3 separate regions of the Homo sapiens genome follow, and regions 1 and 3 are each linked to region 2. The links are contacts of gene promoters, found by promoter capture Hi-C in blood cells and fetal thymus (Javierre and others, 2016). All regions are on one chromosome and are shown on one strand. Each heading gives the region's core, a stretch centred on a gene start or on the middle of the fragment in contact. The rest is flanking DNA. Distances are from core to core; before and after follow the strand shown. Region 1 has its middle 8.8 kb from the start of VAMP1. Region 2 holds the start of PTMS (parathymosin). Region 3 overlaps TAPBPL (TAP binding protein like).

The links. Contacts are between HindIII fragments. The CHiCAGO score rates a contact against its expected background, and 5 or more counts as called.
Region 1: a contact is called between a fragment that was not itself captured here and the fragment with the promoter of PTMS in region 2, in 5 of 17 cell types (naive CD4 T cells, activated CD4 T cells, non-activated CD4 T cells and 2 more). The highest score is 7.2, in naive CD4 T cells.
Region 3: a contact is called between a fragment that was not itself captured here and the fragment with the promoter of PTMS in region 2, in 2 of 17 cell types (activated CD4 T cells and total CD8 T cells). The highest score is 6.7, in activated CD4 T cells.

Annotation. Positions count from the first base shown.
Region 1 is chr12:6,477,221-6,481,798 of GRCh38, forward strand. It overlaps the pseudogene PKP2P1. Among named protein-coding and RNA genes, the nearest start is that of VAMP1, 8.8 kb to the left of the region's middle. The HindIII fragment of the contact is 162 bases long and covers 3,173-3,334 here.
Region 2 is chr12:6,765,113-6,769,427 of GRCh38, forward strand. It overlaps PTMS (parathymosin), which reads left to right and starts at 1,251. Exons shown (of 5, transcript NM_002824.6): 1 at 1,251-1,638. The coding sequence starts at 1,594. RefSeq lists silencers at 1,116-1,445, 1,556-2,055. The HindIII fragment of the contact is 8,838 bases long and covers 803-4,315 here.
Region 3 is chr12:6,458,426-6,462,762 of GRCh38, forward strand. TAPBPL (TAP binding protein like) reads left to right here. Exons shown (of 7, transcript NM_018009.5): 5 at 220-522; 6 at 2,430-2,513; 7 at 3,609-3,891. The coding sequence ends at 3,724. VAMP1 (vesicle associated membrane protein 1) reads right to left here. Exons shown (of 5, transcript NM_014231.5): 5 at 3,812-4,337. Among named protein-coding and RNA genes, the nearest start is that of TAPBPL, 8.6 kb to the left of the region's middle. The HindIII fragment of the contact is 2,094 bases long and covers 1,016-3,109 here.

The DNA of each region.
Region 1 (4,578 bases), core at 2,004-4,503, 290 kb before region 2:
ACAGTGTGGTATTGGTGGGAGGACAGACACATAGATCGATGGCACCGATGAGAGAATGCAGAAATAGACCCCTACAAATATGCGCATCTGATTTTTTTTTTTTTTTTTTTGAGACAGAGTCTTGCTCTGTCGCCAGGCTGGAGTGCAGTCATGCAATCTCGGCTCACTGCAACCTCTGCCTCCCAGGTTCAAGCGATTCTCCTGCCTCAGCCGACCAAGTAGCTGGGACTACAGGCGTGCGCCACCACGCCCAGCTAATTTTTTGTATTTTTAGTAGAGACGGGGTTTCACCGTGTTGGCCAGGATAGTCTGGATCTCTTGACCTCGTGATTCGACTGCCTTGGCCTCCCAAAGTGCTGGGATTACAGGCGTGAACCACCATGCCTGGCCTTCTGTATTTTTTAAGATTCCTATCTGGAGAGCCCCCAGCTCTGCGGCGGCTTCACCCGCGAGTCCCAAGGCAAGCGAGCGGCTGGGTCGCCCCCACCGGCCCCATGGCAGCCCCCGGGGCCCCAGCTGAGTACGGCTACATCCGGACCATCTTGGGCCAGCAGATCCTGGGACAACTGGACAGCTCCAGCCTGGCGCTGCCCTCTGAGGCCAAGCTGAAGCTGGCTGGGAGCAGCGGCCGCGGCAGCCAGTCAAGAGCCTGCGGATCCAGGAGCAGGTGCAGCAGATCCTCGCCCGGAAGGGCCGCAGCTCCGTGGGCAACGGAAATCTTCACCGAACCAGCAGTGTTCCTGAGTATGTCTACAACCTACACTTGGTTGAAAATGATTTTGTTGGAGGCCGTTCCCCTGTTCCTAAAACCTATTACATGCTAAAGGCTGGCACAACTGCCACTTATGAAGGTCGCTGGGGAAGAGGAACAGCACAGTACAGCTCCCAGAAGTCCGTGGAAGAAAGGTATTTGAGGCATCCTCTGAGGAGACTGGAGATTTCTCCTGACAGCAGCCCGGAGAGGGCTCACTACACGCACAGCGATTACCAGTACAGCCAGAGAAGCCAGGCTGGGCACACCCTGCACCACCAAGAAAGCAGGCGGGCCGCCTTCCTGGTGCCACCGAGATATGATCGTTCTGAGATCGCGGGGGTCCGCCGTACTGGCACCACAAGCAGGCAGCACCACTTTGACACCACAGGCAGTACCAGCGTGGCTCTGTTAGTGACACCGTTTTTGACAGCATCCCTGCCAACCCGGCCCTGCTCACGTACCCCAGGCCAGGGACCAGCCGCAGCATGGGCAACCTCTTGGAGAAAGAGAACTACCTGAGGGCAGGGCTCACCGTCGGCCAGGTCAGGCCGCTGGTGCCCCTGCGGCCCCTCACTCAGAACAGGGCTTCCAGGTCCTCCTGGCACCGGAGCTCCTTCCACAGCACCCGCACACCGAGGAAAGCTGGGCCCAGTGTTGCCGTGGATTCCAGCGGGAGGAGAGCGCACTTGACCGTCGGCCAGGCAGCGGCAGGGGGAAGTGGGAATCTTCTCACCCAGAGAAGCACTGACTCCCAGCTGGGGAATGCAGACATGGAGATGACTCTGGAGCGAGCAGGGAGTATGCTCGATGCAGACCAGATGCCGCCGTCCAGGATTTCTGCCGCAGCCACTTTCATACAGCACGAGTGCTTCCAGAAATCTGAAGCTGGGAAGAGGGTTAACCAGTTTTGTGGCATCCCCAAGCTTCTGCAGCTCCTAAAAGTTCAGAATGAAGATGTTCAGCGAGCTGTGTGGGGGGCCTTGAGAAACTTACTATTTGAAGACAATGACAACAAATTGGAGGTGGCTGAACTAAATGGGGTAACTCGGCTGCTCCAGGTGCTGAAGCAAACCAGAGTCTTGGAGACTAAAAAACAACTAACAGGTTTGCTGTGGAATTTGTCATCTAATGACAAACTCAAGAATCTCATGATAACAGAAGCATTGCTTATGCTGACCGAGAATATAATCATCTCCTTTTCTGGATGGCCTGAAGGAGACTACCCAAAAGCGAATGGTTTGCTCGATTTTGACACAGTCTACAACCCACTGGATGTCTAAGAAACATGAGTGCTGCTGGCCCTGATAGGAGAAAAGCAATGAGAAGATGTGACCGACTCATTGACTCACTGGTCCATTATGTCAGAGGAACCATTGCGGATTACCAGCCAGATGACAAGGCCACGGAGAATTGTGTGCACATTCTTCATAACCTCTCCTACCAGCTGGAGGTAGAGCTCCCAGAGAAATATTCCCAGAATATCTATATTCAAAACCCAAATGTCCAGACTAACAACAAAAGTATTGGATGTTTTGGCAGTCGAAGCAGGAAACTAAAAGAGCAATACTAGGACATGCCGATGCCAGAGGAAAAGAGCAACCCCAAGGGCGTGGAGTGGCTGTGACACTCCATTGTGATAAGGATGTATCTGTCCTTGATCGCCAAGAGTGTCCCAAACTACACACAGGAAGCCTCCTTAGGCGCTCTCCAGAACCTCACAGCCGGAAGTGGACCAATGCCGACATCAGTGGCTCAGACAGTCGTCCAGAAGGAAAATGGCCTGCAGCACACCCGAAAGATGGTGCATGTCAGTGACCCAAGTGTGAAAAAGACAGCCAACTTGCTGCTGAGGAATCTGTCCCAGAATCTTTCTCTGCAGAATAAAATTGCCAAAGAAACTCTCCCCAGTTTGGTCTCCATCATTCCTGATACAGTCCCGAGTACTGACCTTCTCATTGAAACTACAGCCTCTGCCTGTTACATGTTGAACAACGTAATCCAAAACAGTTACCAGAATGCACAGCGCCTTCCGAATACCGGGGGCATCCAGAAAATTATGACCATCAGTGCAGGCGATGCCTATGCCTCCAACAAAGCAAGTAAAGCTGCTTCCATCCTCCTGTATTCTCTGTAGGCACACACGGAACTCCATCATGCCTACAAGAAGGCTCAGTTTAAGAAGACAGATTTTGTCAACAGCTGGACTGTCAAAGCCTACCACTCCCTTAAAGACTGAGGAAAATGACGAAGTATTCTCAGCTGCAAAAAAATCCCACAGGAAAACACCTATTTTTCTACTACCCAGCCCAAGAAACCTCAAAAGCATGCCTCGTTTCTATCATTTTCTATTTCCATGGTCCCCCGAATCCAGAAAACAAGTACAACATAATCTTATGAGTCTTCCAGAAGACTTTTGCAAGCTTGCCACCAGTAGATACTGGTCACAGGCTCTACAAATAGTGGTCTTTGTTATTAGGGCTTATGGTGCATGGCCTCCTGGAACCAAAATGTGAATTCATGTGGAATGGACTTTGATCCAATAAATAAGGAAAGAAGTTGTTGCATTACTGGGATTTTAAAAGCTTGATTTACATTTATATTCCTTTTCTAGTTCCCATGTTTTGTCACTCATGTGCACATTGCTTCACCATTGGGCCATGAGTATATTGTTCTGTAGTGTTGAAACAGAATGGAAATGACAAGAAATATCTGCAGTTATCCAGGAGAAAGTATAATGGCAAAATTATTTGTTTCTTTGTTTACTTTGTGCTCGTTTTTATCTCCTTAGGTTTTTTTCCTCTGATTTTTAAATAAACTTAAGAAATTTAGATTACAGAGTATGCATGACTGTAAGAAAAAGAAATTGAGAGGAAGTGATCATAGCAAATTAAAGAAACCTTTTTCTCCCAAAACTTAAAGTAAAATAAATAAAAATAAAAATAAATCTTTTCCCCAGAGAAAGGCAACTGTGATTATAAAGTTTAACCTTCCCCCAAACACTGAATGAATGAGATTTTTGCTCCGGAAATACTTTACCTATAACAACACCATTAAATCCAAATCTCTTCTAAACAATGGCATTCCGTGTAATGCCTTTCCTGGACATTTTTTTTTTTTTTTTTTTTTAGACGGAGCTCAGGCTGGAGTGCAGTGGTGCAATCTTGGCTCACTGCAACCTCCGCCTCCCTGGTTCAAGTGATTCTCCTGCCTCAGCCTCCTGAGTAGCTGGGATTACAGGCGTGCACCACCACGCCTGGCTAATTTTTTTGTATTTTTAGTAGAGACAGGGTTTCACCATGTTGGTCAGGCTGGTCTTGAACTCCTGACCTCATGATCCGCCCGGCTCAGCCTCCCAAAGTGCTGGGATTATAGGTGTGAGCCACCGCACCGGGCCTTCTGTATTTTTTAGGCCACTGCCCTGGACTAGTGGAAGAATGGACTCTAGTCTTTATCTGCAAGAGGAACTAAGGCCTTCTATCAGACTGCCCGGCCAGCCTGGGGCACTGAAAATACAGCTCATTTTAATGAGTTACATTATCAACCAGCTTTGCCCAGCATTTAAGAAATATCACAGGGCCACTAAATCTCATATGATCTTCTTCAAGCCATTATTTTAATTCAAGAAAACTCTAGAGAAAAAAGTGAAGAAGTCATGTTGAAGAAGATATAAGAATGTGTCAAGACCATACAGAAATGATATGAGAAATACTGGTGTTTTAAAAGGTGACATCATCCAGTGAAATGAATCTATATTAAATGTTATTTTAACTGCATTATGATTAAAACCATTCATATAGAGTTAGTCTTCACAACTACTATTCTGT
Region 2 (4,315 bases), core at 1-2,500:
AGCCTTCCACTCTGTCCACCTTCCTGACCTTTAATACACAACCCAGCCCCTGTTCCCTTCTGAAATCCCAAGCTTTTCAAAATGACTCAAAGATACCGAGATTGAGGGCGAGGAGCTGAGGATGTGTGGAATAGGGTGGGGCTGGAACTCCAGACCTGGACCTGTATTATATTTGCAAAGGAGGCAAATATAACCCAGAAAGGCTAGGGAAGATGGCAGCAGAGGAATGAGAAAAGCTGAAGGATGGAAAATGTAAAAAATGAGGACAGAAAGAGGAGTTGAGGAAAGCCAGCCAAGAATAGAGGGCCAGGTGCCTGACTCAGATAAGACAAGAGCAGGGTTGTCTGGGAAAGATAGGGAAAGAGACCAGAGGTGGAAGGGCAGAAGAGAGTCAGTGAGGAGTGGAGAAGAGGTGAGAGAAGAATGGGAGCGATTCGAGTTATAATTGGTTGTGAAGGAGGGGTCTAGGTACAGATGACTGAGGACGGATGAAGAGAAATAGAAGGACCAGGCGAATAAAAGTGAGGTGAGACGGGCGAATAAGAGAGGTAGAAGATGGAAGAGAGCTGGAAGACAGCAAAGGAGACCAGGGGGCCTGACTCCCCCCGGCTCACAGCACGGGGCCAGGAAGGGAGGCACCCGGCAAGGGTCACAAGTGTCAATCTGGCGGGACAGAAGGCTGGGCCGCCCTTTCTGCCCTCCCATCCCTCCTCAAGGCCATCCAGAGAATGTGGATGGAGGATGAGAGGGGGAAATCCGGCGTGGTGTGGAAGGAGCGCCCGAACCCTCTTCCTCTTCTTTAAGCTTTTGGTTTCTCAAATACCTGCCCTATCTTCCCATCTGCTCCCCTCACCCCACCCCTTGGCAAAATCCCAGGGCTTTTTTTGGGGTCAGTAGGATTCTGGCCACCTCTCCAGTCCGCCCCCAAAAGCCAGACTCCACATTCGCAGGCAGTAGGTTGGGATTTGGAAAGGTGCCTCCCCGCAGGAACCCCACCCCTTCCCACCTCCTCGCCCCACTCTTTCTCCGCGGCCGTCAGTCTCTCCATTTCCCCCTCCTGGTCTCGTCCTCCCTCCCGACTCCCTAGCTCTCCCTCCCCTCGCTTTCATCCTCCTATCCCCACCTCTCCAACCTCCTCTTTCATCCCCCTCCCCTCTCCTCTCCTCCCCGCTCCCGCCTGCCCCACCCCTGGGAAGCCCCTCCCGTCGGGCAGCGCCGCCTTATAAGCGGGTTCCCTTCCCGGGGGCGGCAGCGGCTGGTCGGCGGCAGCTCTGCTGGTGCGGGGGCGGCGAGCCCGGGATCGAGCTACCGCGGCCGAGCGCGCCGGCCACCGCCTGCACCGCCCTTCCGCCCGCCCTCCGGACGGCCGCAGCCCTGCGGGTCTCCGCTCCAGACCCACCCCCGCCCCACCCCGCGCGCCTCTGCCGCCTCTTCCAGAGACCCAGCTTGCCGAGCGGCCGCCGCTGCCGCTGTCGCCGCCGCCGCCGCCACCGCGCCAGGTTCCGGCCGCGGCCACCCTCCGCCGTCCAGGGCCCCTCCGTCTCGGCCCCGGGACCCCGGCTCCCCGCCAGCCCCGGCCCCGGCCCCGGCACCATGTCGGAGAAAAGCGTGGAGGCAGCGGCCGAGTTGAGCGCCAAGGTACGGGCGGGGGCGGCGGCGGCCCGGACCTCGCGCAGCCCTGGGGCCCGGCGCGGTCCTTCGCCCCAGGCCGCCCCCGACGGCCCCGCGCGGCCCTTGCGCCCGGGTCCTGGCGGACCCCACTGCGCCCTCCCACCGCTCCCCGGCCCGGAGCTCCTTTCCCGGCTCCGCGCGGCTAGCGCCAGCGCCCTCTAGCTGCCCTGCGCGCACCACGGCGCCCGGCCTCGCCGCTCCGGTCGCGCCGTCCCCCGCAGCCGTCCCCACCCCTCTTCGGCCCCACCTCGCTGACCGGATCCCGTCCGGCTTCCCGTCCGAACGCCCCGAGTCTCACTTTGCCGCGCCCCCTCCCTGCGCCCCGCTGCCGCGTCTTTGCTTGCAACCTGACCTCACCTTTCCTCGCTAAGCGGTTTGAGATCCTCAAGTGTAAACAGGACTCTCCCTGGAGGCTGCTCCTCCGGGCCCCTCCCCGCGGCCCGACCGTCGCTCGCTTCTCTCCCCGGACGGCGGCCGCCTCTGTTTTCTCGTTCCCTCCCCTCAGCTGGCTTTCAGCTTTCTTTTCTCTTCATCGTCCCCTTCCCGCATACACACTGAAAGAATCTCGAATTCCTAAAAATTAGAAGCGGGGCAGGACTAGCCTTCGAAAAAGCCGAGGCTGGGCATTGCATGGCATTGCGTCGAGCTGTCCTCGCCCTCATCAGCTCCCTTCCCCGGCCCCATCCGTTCGCCCTTGCCTCTCTTCCAGCCTTCCTCTAATTTCCCCAGGGAACCTGCGGAGTGTCGCTTTGGGAAATTAACGCGGCCGGGGTTTGGGGGCTGGGAGCCCTATCTTGTGTGTGTATGTGTATGGCGGGGGGGGGGGGCGCGGTGGTTGCTGAGGGGCCGTCACACAGGTCTCCCGGAGGCCCGCGGAGTGAAACGGGGGGAGCCAATGGGATTAACGGCGGTGGGAGAGGGGCTGTGTGCGATCTGCCAAGGTGCGCCCGTGTGGCCCTCCGGCGGGCTGTGCGGTGGCATGTGACTTCACTGAGTAGGTGTCTTTGTATGTCTGAAATCCAGCGAGTGTGTGGGACTGCCCGTGTCAGTTACATGTGTGCATGTGGAGACGTAGATGTTCTGGAGCCATGTTGTCGCTTTGTGAGTGCTGAGTGGCTCCGCTGTGCTCCCGTGCTGTCTCAAGAGTGTGGACCAGAATGGCCCAACGCTGGGCCATGTGTCTCCCATCGCGTGGGTGCTCCTCTCTAACTGTGTCTGTGCATGGCTGTCGGCCGGTGTCGGTGTGTGTGCCTGTGTTGAGTAAATGAGGCCAGAGGGCTGCTTAGCAGAAGACCTAGGGCCCAGGTCACATATTCTCCTGGAAAAGGGATCATGGAAGGACAGTGACCAGAAGGACAGAACAGGGGAGGAGAGGGCCCGGCCCCTTGAACTTTGGTCTCTGGTATTCTCCCTCCCTGCATCAGCCCAGATGGGAAAGTCAGGCCAGGGCCATACAGACTTTTGGTGCTGGGGCCCCCAGAGAGAAGCTGACCAGCTCTTTGCTCTCCTGGCCCAGGACGTAGGGAAGAGCCCCCTAGGTAGTGGAAATGCCATACTGACCTTGTGGCACAGAAATGAAGACCTCACGGTGGGGTGGAAGGGCACCCTCTCTGGAGTGAGAGTGAAGAGTTCTGAGCTACCCTTAAAGGGAGAAGGGAATTGAGTGCCCCCCAGGGCAGCCGTTCTGCACCAGGCTCCTCTCCTATCCCCTATCCTGTTCCAGAAAGGACCCCCCCGCCCAGGGTGATCTCACACAGGAGACTTCCATTCACATGGAATCAGATACACAGCGTGGCACACCAACACCAGATCAGATCACACAAGGACACCTACCGTGTTACACTGTGCCTGCCAAGGAGTGGGTGGGGAGAGCACTGGAATCTGAATTGGGAGGCTAGTGTAGTGTCCAGAAGGGACTCAGATGTGCCATATCAGCACAGGACGTCAACCTATGCCTGCTAGGATCTTGGGGTGAAGGAGAGGGGCTGGCTGGTGGGAGGGTCTCCTAGACTGGTCCCTCCCTCTTCTCCATTCCTATCCCACCCCAGTCACAGACCTTGTTTGTTGCTCTCTCCTTGTTTCCCACGCCTGCTACTCTTCCCCTCCTTGTTTTCTCTTCTACTTCACCTACATTTCCACCGTAAATGGCTACTTCCACTACACCCATGCATACACCATGGGAGGCAGGGATAGAGGAAACTACTTGAACTGTTTTGGGGCGGGGAGGGCAGAAAGTGGGAGGGGTGCTGGGAATGTGCTAAGGTGTAGTGTTTGGCCAAGTAGGGGCCTGAGGATTAGGGAGACACAGATGGAGAGAAACAAAGACCTTAGAAGCTGAAGGGGAAGCTGGGAGGGATGCCCAGGAGAGAGAGTCCTCAGGAAAAGGCCCCAGAGGTAGACAAAAGGCAGAGCTGGGCGGGCAGTGGCGGGGCAGGCAAGGGAGGCGGAGGGACACAGGAGGGGGCGGGGCACTGAGGCTGCAAGCAGATGGAGAGGATTTGCTTTGCTGAGCTGAACTCTTCAGCCAGTGAGGTTTGGGAGAACTTGATGGGGGTGGGGATCATTACCCTGGTTGCCCGCTCCTGCTTCTTCATCCCTTTCCCACCTCACCTTGGGTCTTGGGGAAGGAGGTGTTTGGTCTCAA
Region 3 (4,337 bases), core at 813-3,312, 310 kb before region 2:
TTTAGTTGGCTTTACTATCTGTTTTCTGGAAAATGTAACCCTGCCCCCTTACGGCCTGCATCCAGGTGGGCCCCTCACACACCCCCGCCTTGGTACACCACCAAGGGACACTGTAGCCTCCACAATCTACTCTCATCTTGGCAGGAAGAAAAGGCTTCAGGCTCCTCCGCTGTCCCCAGTTAGATCCATGTGTAATCTTATTCCTCATTCTTTCTCCAGCTTCCCCTAAAGTACGACTGAGCTTGGCAAACGAAGCTCTGCTGCCCACCCTCATCTGCGACATTGCTGGCTATTACCCTCTGGATGTGGTGGTGACGTGGACCCGAGAGGAGCTGGGTGGATCCCCAGCCCAAGTCTCTGGTGCCTCCTTCTCCAGCCTCAGGCAAAGCGTGGCAGGCACCTACAGCATCTCCTCCTCTCTCACCGCAGAACCTGGCTCTGCAGGTGCCACTTACACCTGCCAGGTCACACACATCTCTCTGGAGGAGCCCCTTGGGGCCAGCACCCAGGTTGTCCCACCAGGTACTGGGAGTGTCCTCCTTTTCCCCACCTCCACACTAGGGCTCATGGCTCTCCTGCCCCAGCTCATCTATGGCCTTGTTCTGCTGCCCATCCACTTTGTTCGCAGCCCTGGCTTCATGCTCCTGCCTCTGCTCCTGACTATTTTCCCAAGGCGGCAGCTGCCACAGCTTCTACCACACATCCCCTGAGACTTCATTATACTCCAGCCTCCAGGGTGTCAGGCAATGTGCTTAAGGCTGGAGATCACAGATGAATAATTCCTGATCATGCCCTCCAGGAGCTTAGTCCAGTAATAGAGACAAGACTAAGTAGACAGAGAAGATGGCATTTGAGCCAAGTTAACTAGCTTAGAGGGAAGGGAACACTCAAGATAGAAACAATAGCATATATGAAAGCCAAATCATAAAACAGCCTAAAGAGAATTTGGAGAATTGCAAGTAATTCAGCACAGCTAGAGCTTAGGGTATATGGGAAAAAGGGAAAGTGGCTCTGAAGCTTCGGAGGTAATTCTATTTATTGAGCATTTACATGAATCAAGCAGTGTAGAAAGCACTTAAATGTATGATTTCATGGATCATGACTCCCATTTTACAGGTGAGTAAACTGGCACTTGCAGATGTCAATGAATTTGCCCAAGGTCACCTATCAATCAATGGTAAAGAGAGAATGTGAAAAACAGGCAACCGGATTCCCCTTACGGGCTTAATTAAACCCTGTAGATCTCACTGGGCCTTCAAGCTGGAACTTCCTGAGAGCCATAGCATGCTGTTGAAAGGTTTTATTTATTTATTTATTTATTTATTTATTTATTTATTTATTTTATTTTATTTTACTTTTTTTCGATACAGAATCTTGCTCTGTTCCCCAGGCTGGAGTGCAGTGGTATGATCTCAGCTCACTGCAACCTCCATATCCTGGGTTCAAGCCATCCTCTTGCCTCAGCCTCCCAAGTAGCTGGGATTACAGGCGCGCACCACCACGCCTGGCTAATTTTGCGTTTTTAGTAGAGATGGGGTTTCGCCATGATGGCCAGGCTGGTCTCAAACTCCTGACCTCAGGTGATCTGTCCGCCTCGGCTTCCCAAAGTGCTGGGATTACAGATATGAGCCACCGCACCCTGCCTGTCGAGAGGTTTTAAGCAGGAAAGGGACAGGAAAGAACCCGCAACTTGAAGTGGAAACATCCAGGAGCACTGGGCATTATTTGGTTGCTCATTAGACTGTGAACTTCCCCAAAACTGAGGTTTCACTTCAGCTCACATCATTCCCCAACTATTTACAAAATCCCAGTTAACTGGTGGTTTTTTGTTTTGCTTTGTTTTATTTTGTTTTGTTTTGAGATAGGGTCTCACTCTGTCGCCCAGGCTGGAGTGCAGTGGCACGATCTCAGCTCACTGCAAACTCTGCCTCCCAGGCTCAAGTGATTCTCCCACCTCAGCCTCCCAAGTACCTGGGACCACAGGCGCACACCAACATGCCCAGTTAATTTTTTGTATTTTTTGTACAGACAGGGTTTCACCATGTTGCCCAGGCTGGTCTCGAACTCCTGACCTCAGGTGATCCACCTACCTCAGCCTCCCAAAGTTCTGGGATTACAGGCATGAGCCACTGTGTCCAGGCAAGTTAAGTGCTAACAAATAAACCCACCTAAATCTCACTTGCAAAGCAATTTTTAAAACCTTGTCCTTAGGTGGGAAGAGGTAGAGAATTCTGTGTGGAGTAACTCACAAGTATCCAGCAACCTTGAATAAGAACAAATGCTGCTGAGTGCCTTGTTCCAGGCTCCTCAACCAGGGACTCACACACACAATCCTTAGCTCCTCCTCCCTGGGGTGGACACTGCAGGTGAGGGCTCAGCTCATGATTCCTGCGCACGATGATCCCCGCCCACGTTGCTCTCACCTACAGAGCGGAGAACAGCCTTGGGAGTCATCTTTGCCAGCAGTCTCTTCCTTCTTGCACTGATGTTCCTGGGGCTTCAGAGACGGCAAGGTAAGAGCCTGGGTGCCCTTGGCTCTGGCCCTGGCCCACCTCACCCACTCTAACCACCCCCCCGCCCAGACCAGGGTGGAAGCCCAGATGCCCCAAGCTCCAGCCACCCACCCATCACAGCCTCCTGCTTTTGAGTTTGCCCTAAATGAAAATGAAACCAGTCGTGTTCCCTCGTTTTCTCCTAGCTACCTCACTAAAGTCTGTCACTCTCCTGCCTCAGAGTAGAAAGAAAGAGTAGTCACGTGCTCCCAGAAGGACTCTAAGTCAAGTCACAGAGCTAAAAATACATGAAGGTGGCACCAGCTCATGGGGCACTGGGCCTGGCTCTGCAGAGGCCTCTGCCTTCCTTCACTGTGCACCCTGGGCTCATGCACCAAGGCAGAGAACAGGAAGAAGTGAGGGGACAAGAAGAAGGCAGAATGTCCAGATGGAGGATAAGACCAAAGAGCCAGGTTGGTGGTGTGACGGTAGGAAAACAAAGCTGGAGGAAATGGAGAAGGAACAAGTGAGGGACAATGAGGCATGGGTTGGGGCTGGGCTACCCCTCCCAAACTCAGCTCTGTCAAAATAAAAGGCCCTTGTGTCTGCTGCGACCAAGCTTTTCCACTTTCCTGTCTTTCTCCACACTGGTCCCAACTGAGCCCTGTCACCAAGCCTAGCGGCTCCAACTTGCAAAGTGTTTAAGTATGAAACAAAGGCCCTCAGAGGCACCCCCGTGGCTCCATCTCAGTTGCACCTCAGCTGCAATTAGGGTTCTGCTCCCTCGGGTGACTGCTGGGAGGTTCAGGATACCTGCAAATGCCTCACTCCCTCAGCTGCAAGGAGAGACTTCTCCTTTTTATTCGTTTCTAAAATGTGCCTAATCAATACGGTGGAACTCAGCATACCAAAACTGTACGTGAGGATGATGGGGAAAAGGGGGTAAGGGGGTGTTCACTGACAGCCTTATCTGGGCACATCCCCTGGGACAGGACAAGCAGGCCAAGGACCTAGGAAGGAGCACAGGAGGCAGATGGAAGAGGCCTGAGGGAACCTGTGCTTGTTTGCCAGTGTGAGATGCCCACGCAACTTCCTGTCTTCACTTCCTCTTACCAGCACCTACAGGACTTGGGCTGCTTCAGGCTGAACGCTGGGAGACCACTTCCTGTGCTGACACACAGAGCTCCCATCTCCATGAAGACCGCACAGCGCGTGTAAGCCAGCCCAGCTGACCTAAAGCGACATGAGACTACTAGAAAGAAACGACACCCTTCCCCAAGCCCCCACAGCTACTCCAACCCAAACAACAACCAAGCCAGTTTAATGGTAGGAATTTGTATTTTTTGCCTTTGTTCAGAATACATGACATTGGTAAATATGCCACATGCCTTTGGTGGAAGTACAACTGTTGTTATTACTCTATACAAGTATGAGATCAGGGTTAGGAAAAAAAGACAAAGAGGTGATGACAGACACACAGTGGAAACCCCACATCGTCTCATGGCAAACCGAAGAACGGGATGTGGGAAGCTCAGCTTCATTTGACTGCAAAGTCCCAGGGTTTTGTTGCACATTTGCTCATGCACATGGGTGGTGGGAGGAAAGGGGGATAGCAGAGACACACAGAAGAGGGTACAGGGTGGGTGAGAAAGAAAGTAGAAGGGCTAATACCCCCAAAGAACAAGGCCAACTACACCTGGTGAGCCTCAGAGGGACAGAAACCCAGGAATGATTCCTGTGATAGGGCTGGGAGAGCCAAGAGGACGGATTCGCTCCAGGCTTGGGACACATCGAGGACAGTGGTGGTTCTTCTCCAGCGGTGACCCCCTGCATTAGGCAAGGAGG